Regions from separate parts of the Homo sapiens genome. Here region 1 is linked to region 2. The links are contacts of gene promoters, found by promoter capture Hi-C in blood cells and fetal thymus (Javierre and others, 2016). All regions are on one chromosome and are shown on one strand. Each heading gives the region's core, a stretch centred on a gene start or on the middle of the fragment in contact. The rest is flanking DNA. Distances are from core to core; before and after follow the strand shown.

Region 1 (2,700 bases), core at 56-2,555, 250 kb before region 2:
TCATGAGCTGTGTGTACTAGAAACATTCAAGTGCAGCTAAAATGGCCACGTGTCAGAGAAGCTGTAGAGGGATTTCAGATTTGAGTGGGAATGTTAGACCAAGTGACCTTTAAATCCCTGTGGTTTAAAATTACCACGATGTGAGTTAGTTCCTCAACATCTGGATTACATGTATTTTCAGGCCTGAAAAATAAGAGCTCAATCTCAGTTAACTCTGATTTCCCTGGAAGCCAAAACAGAAAGGGAAACTATATTCTGAATTTGATAAAAAGGTAGAAAATTAGTTTATGAGGAATAGCAAACTTTTTCTTTGCTTTCATTTCAGAGGGCAATTGAATACAAAGGTCAGTGTTTATCTGTTAAGCTCCCTCATTAGAGGAAGTATGACATAGCAGGGGCTTTAAGGTGGTTTTAGAATATAAATATTGCCAACTTCATTTGCATTTATATCTCTGTGTCATTGAGCATCACCATCTTTAATTGCCATCCATGGTCTAGTTTTTGACACAGGTCTAGGAATCTAGGAATCTATGGGTCCCATAAAACATTTGTAATCTTTAAAAGCCATGCATTTATCACATATTTATCAATTAATCCAAATCTAATAAAAATAATTATTATTTTTCTTACCACTAAGTATAGTTTTAACAGCAAAGTGATAAAAAGAATTAAAAGCTCTTAACTCAGTTGAGATTTTGATCTCTTTAAAACCCACAGTGGCATAGTAGTCTCCGCAGGTGTAAGACCAAAAATACTTCTTGTCATATTATTACTTGTGAGCTGCTCTCAAAATAGCAGTTTTTTAAAAAATAAGAAACCACTTTCACCCTCTTATAAGAATTGTCTTATTCATACAGTACAGATGTTGGGAAATGAAGACCTATAAAATCAAGGATAGACTAACTTTACAAAACAAAGAAAAGAAAGAATCATATTCAATCCTGCTTGGTTAAGCAAAATACAATAGTGAACATATATCTTATGGGTTATATATCTAAGACCAGGAAGGTTACCTAGTTATTGTAGAAGTAAAGCAAATGGAATACAATGCACATATAAAGACCAGAAACATAATTATAATTCCATTTTTTGGCAATTGAATAGAAAATAAAAAATTTCTTTTTGATAAGATTCCCAAGGAATAGGAATGCTTATAATCAATCAACTTATTGGGAGCAAGACTTACTGATTTAGTTCAACTAGGTGAATTAAAAAGTTATTCTGCATAAAATCCTAAACTTGGTGCTGAAGAAATCATAAAATGAGACACAACCTTTACCTTAAAGAGTTTACCATCGGGCACATATCAGTCAAATGAGCCAGGAACTATAATAAAAGGCAATACATTATGCATATTGTAACTGAGGTATAAACAAAGTACAGTGGATTCAAAGGAGAAATTGCTCACTTCCTATTTGGGGTGGAGAAAAGATAAGGCTTCTTAGGAGAAATGACATTTGAAAAATGGGTGAAATATTTACAGGTTGAAAAAATGGAGGAAGGATGTACCAGGCAGATAGATGATTAAAGCTGTGATGACAGGCAAGTGTGAGTCCTGAGAAAGTTTGCCGGAAGAGTGGAGCAGATGTATGTGAGGAGGTGAGGCATAGGAGCTACTACTGGAGATGCAGGCTGAAGCCAGGTGTGGTGCATCTCCTCACAAGGCTAACGGGTCTGCATTTATTTTCACAGGTGATGAGGGGTCATTTAATGTATGGAGTTGAGGCATGACAGGATCACAGGGCTGCCTGGAGTCTTGTATGCAGATTGTGCACTGCAAAATCTTAGACAGTGTCATTCACCTGGTGACCCTGTTGATACCTATATTTCGTAGGACCGTATTTTAGTCATTATAAGTGTACTATATAATGAGAAGTTTCTTGACACACGGAAGTCAAGTGTCTTGAAGATGGGATGCCTTTCCTGATTTGTACAAATGCACCATGTGGGGCAATGGTAGCTTGTGACAGCTGTGCTCTGGGTAGACACGTCTTAAAACAGAACATAGAACTGATTGCTACAAGGACAGCCTGGAGACTTTGACAATAGTACACAGTAAAACAGGAGCTTCACTTGGAAGGGAGGCTGATAGAGAATCTAGGTGGGAGGCAATGAAAGAAGAACCCATACATGACTTCAGTGATGGGTGACAGATAATGGTGGCCAACAGGAAATAGAAAAGTGAGAAGGGAGATTTATTAAGGCAAGGGAAAGGGAGGCAGGGAGAGGGCAGAGGTGCACACACTTTGGAGCCAGCATTGTTGGCAGAACATCCAGGTGGATGTGTCAAGTGTGAGGCTGAAGTGCTGATCTGGAGGGCAGAGCAGGAGCTGGGCCAGAACCATCCACATAAATGTGTTTGCTGGGTCCCAGGGAATTAATGAGATAATGACAGAGCACAAGAGAGAGGCGAGCAGAGTGTAACTAGTATCAGAAGCAATCCTCGTTCTTATCATATTTTGCTCTCTCACCCCAAAAGAATTAGGAATAAATCTTGTAAAAGGAGCCTGCCTTCTTAGTAATGTGGTTGTTGGATAGCTTGTTTTATTTCCAGTTCCTGCCAACCATCCAATGCAGTCAGAAAGCCAGCTTTTATCCAAAAACATGCCATTTTTTTTCATTATAAGATTAGATAAGAGTGACAGCAGGAGAAGCTTTCTGACCAAAGGCAGAATCGTTGATGACCTGGTAATGTTTCAA
Region 2 (2,700 bases), core at 1-2,500:
TCTGATAATTAGTCCTTGCTGTCGCTCCAGGGCAGAAATGCTTGACACCTGGCCTCTAGGCCATCTGTGCTGGAGGACGCTGCCCCGCACCCGCCCCCTTGAAGTTCTCTGATGACCGCAACTTACCTGGCCGGGATGCTCTGGCCGGGCAGCTCTTCGTGCCAGCCCAAGACCTTTGGGGAAGAGAAGAAAACAAAACAAAACAAAACAACTTACCACCTTGGCCCAGTCCAAGAACAAGTGAAAACACCCAGGCTGCCCAGAGGAACGAGGCGGGACCTCGCCGGTCGTTTTGCAGGCAGACAAATGCAGCGGTAAAAAAAGCCAGGGCCGAGCCGCACATAATGCAAAACAGCCCGCCCCGCGCCCGCCGCCTGACTGCCTTCCGGACGCGGGCTCGCGCCTCCCGGGCGCACCTCGGGGCCCGCGGGCCGAGTGTCGCTAGGACGTTTTCCGCAGGCCTAGCAGGCGGACCCCGCGGCTCGGAGCAAGCGGTGCAGGTAAGCGGGCCCGGGCACCGCTCGGCATCTCAGGGCCCCTGCGGCCCTCCCGGCTCGGCACGGCGGGTCCCGCGGTCTCCGCGAGAAGCACCTCCTTCGACGGCCAAGGGCCCCGGCGGCGACTGGAGAGAGGGCTCTGCAAGGGCTCCGCAGCCTGCTCCGGGACAAAGAAAAGAGCTTTTGTTTCTCTCCAGCCGGTGGGGCTTCTGCTGCATAAATCAGCTTAGCGAAGAGCCAAACACAATCAAACCCAAACAAAGCCCGAAGCTGGGGGGGAAACCACCCTAATGTACATTCACTGGGTGATGCTGGATCTGTGGGAGGGGACGCCGGCGAGGTCGAGGGGAAAAAAGTCTGTGGCGCATCAATCAGCGCAGTTGCTTCCACAGGTGGGCAGGGAGGCCAACACCATTAGTTGCAGCTTTGCAGCCCCGTCTGCGGAGCAGCGGGCAAAGACAAGTCGGCAGCGTCCTGGCTGGCAAGGGAGGAAGCTCGGGATGCCAGCAACAGGGGGAGGCGGCTCTGGGAGCGCCCTAGAAGCACCCGCCGACACCCGCAGGCACAGAGCGAGGCATCGCCGCTCCCTCCCTGGCGGGGAGTGGGGCCTGCGGCTGCGAGCGCAGGAGGGGAGGTTCCGCGAGGTGCCGGAGCCCGGCTTCGCGGGGCGGGGGCTGCGTGCCCTTGTCCTTTTCGCCTCAGTGCGCGGCTCAGGCGTCCCGCAGTCCAGAGCCCGAGTTGCTGGCGCGCTCTGGGGTGCACACGGCTAGGATGCGAGAGAGGCGAGGCCGGCGATGGGCGGGAGAGGGGTGGTCCTGCTCTGGCCCCCCGGGGGGCTCCAGACCTGCGGGTAGCCGGGTGCACTCAGGGCAGAGAGTTGCTAGGAAACCTCCCCACGCTACCGGAGCGCCTCGCCTCGGCTGCCCGCAGGCGCGGCTGCAGCCCGGGCAGGAGCAGCAGTAACAGCTCGGAGCAGCGTGGGCGGGACATTGGTGAGGCATGAAGTCACCGCGGCCCACACTCGCTCTTTGTTTTGCTCACTCCAGCTCTTTCTTTTCCCCCTTGGCTCTGATAGTTGCCATTCCCATCGTTCACAAGAACTCCTGAAGCGTAGCCGCGCAACAGGAATGGCACGCCTCGTTCCCTTCTCCCTCCTCCCCCGAATCCTTGCACCCCAACGCTCGCGGGGGTGGTGGGAGACTCGCTCAGCGCCAGCGGCAGCTGCGAGCAAACCCCAATCTCTCACCCCCGCGCTGCTCGCCGCTTTGTTCGGAGATACTCACTGCCCCGCAGCTGCTGCATACAAAGTGGAGTCAAGGGACCTCCCCTGCCCCCAACGCCCTCTACTCAGCACTTTGCTTGCAGTTAGGAGCTCGTCCTCTACCCCACCACAAGGCTGCCCCGGTGTCCCTAGCCTTTGGAGAGTTGGACCAGTCTGCAGGGGCTGTTCCCGGAGCGACTGGCCGAGATTTCTCGCTGCTCCTTCTCTGCTCAAAACCTTAACCCTGGACTGGACAGCCCTGTTTTTCCCCAGCGTCTGGTGGTGGCTCTGGGCTTTTGCAAGTTACAGTGGGTCTTTTGATCTTAAGCGTCACCTTCCCAGTAAACGGAACAAAAAGTTACAGACAGCAGCAAAGCGGGGAGAGGGGAGCTAAGGAGAGAAAGTGGAAGGCACTTCTGCCTGCTTGCAGCTCAGAAATTTAGGTGCAAGTAGGGTGCGGGTGTTATGCTGGGCAACTGCCCGGAAGCAGCGCGCCTCCTCGGGTCCTGTCATTACCACGCTAAGTCGAGGGAGGGAACTCAGTCCCCCGCATTGGAAACAAGGCAGTGTTTCCAGTTTAACACGGTGATGGTTCTCTTTTCCCTCTAGGGGCAGGAGCGATTCCCATTCGAGGAGTTTGACCTCTCATTTTAATACAACACCCGCCTCTTAGAGGCAGCAGACCAGTCCAGCCAGGTCAAGGTGAAATATGCGGGAGTTTCCCCCCTTCTTATTTAATAGTTTCCGTCTCCTTATTTGTAGTTAAAAAAAAAAAAAAAAAAAAAGTAGGAGGCGCGGTCTCTCTCTTTCTTTCTGTTGACTGAGTGAATGGAAAGTACCTGGTTAATAAACCACAACATCGAAACTCCCCCTTTCAGGTGTGGACCGCACAACGGGGTGCACAGGATTAGTTAAGCAAAGCAGGAACCCAGCTGGAAAATT

Evidence for each region. The method cuts DNA at HindIII sites, captures the fragments that hold promoters and counts their contacts. A CHiCAGO score of 5 or more calls a contact.
Region 1: a contact is called between a fragment that was not itself captured here and the fragment with the promoter of ITGB8 in region 2, in 1 of 17 cell types (monocytes). The highest score is 5.7, in monocytes.

The regions. Positions count from the first base shown.
Region 1 is chr7:20,575,260-20,577,959 of GRCh38, reverse strand. No RefSeq gene overlaps it. Among named protein-coding and RNA genes, the nearest start is that of ABCB5, 39 kb to the left of the region's middle. The HindIII fragment of the contact is 2,702 bases long and covers 1-2,656 here.
Region 2 is chr7:20,329,450-20,332,149 of GRCh38, reverse strand. ITGB8 (integrin subunit beta 8) reads right to left here and starts at 1,250. Exons shown (of 14, transcript NM_002214.3): 1 at 217-1,250. The coding sequence starts at 343. ITGB8-AS1 (ITGB8 antisense RNA 1) reads left to right here and starts at 388. Exons shown (of 3, transcript NR_110120.1): 1 at 388-500; 2 at 2,637-2,700. RefSeq lists silencers at 290-529, 1,000-1,389 and enhancers at 1,470-1,759, 1,860-1,929, 2,017-2,629. The HindIII fragment of the contact is 8,395 bases long and covers 1-2,700 here.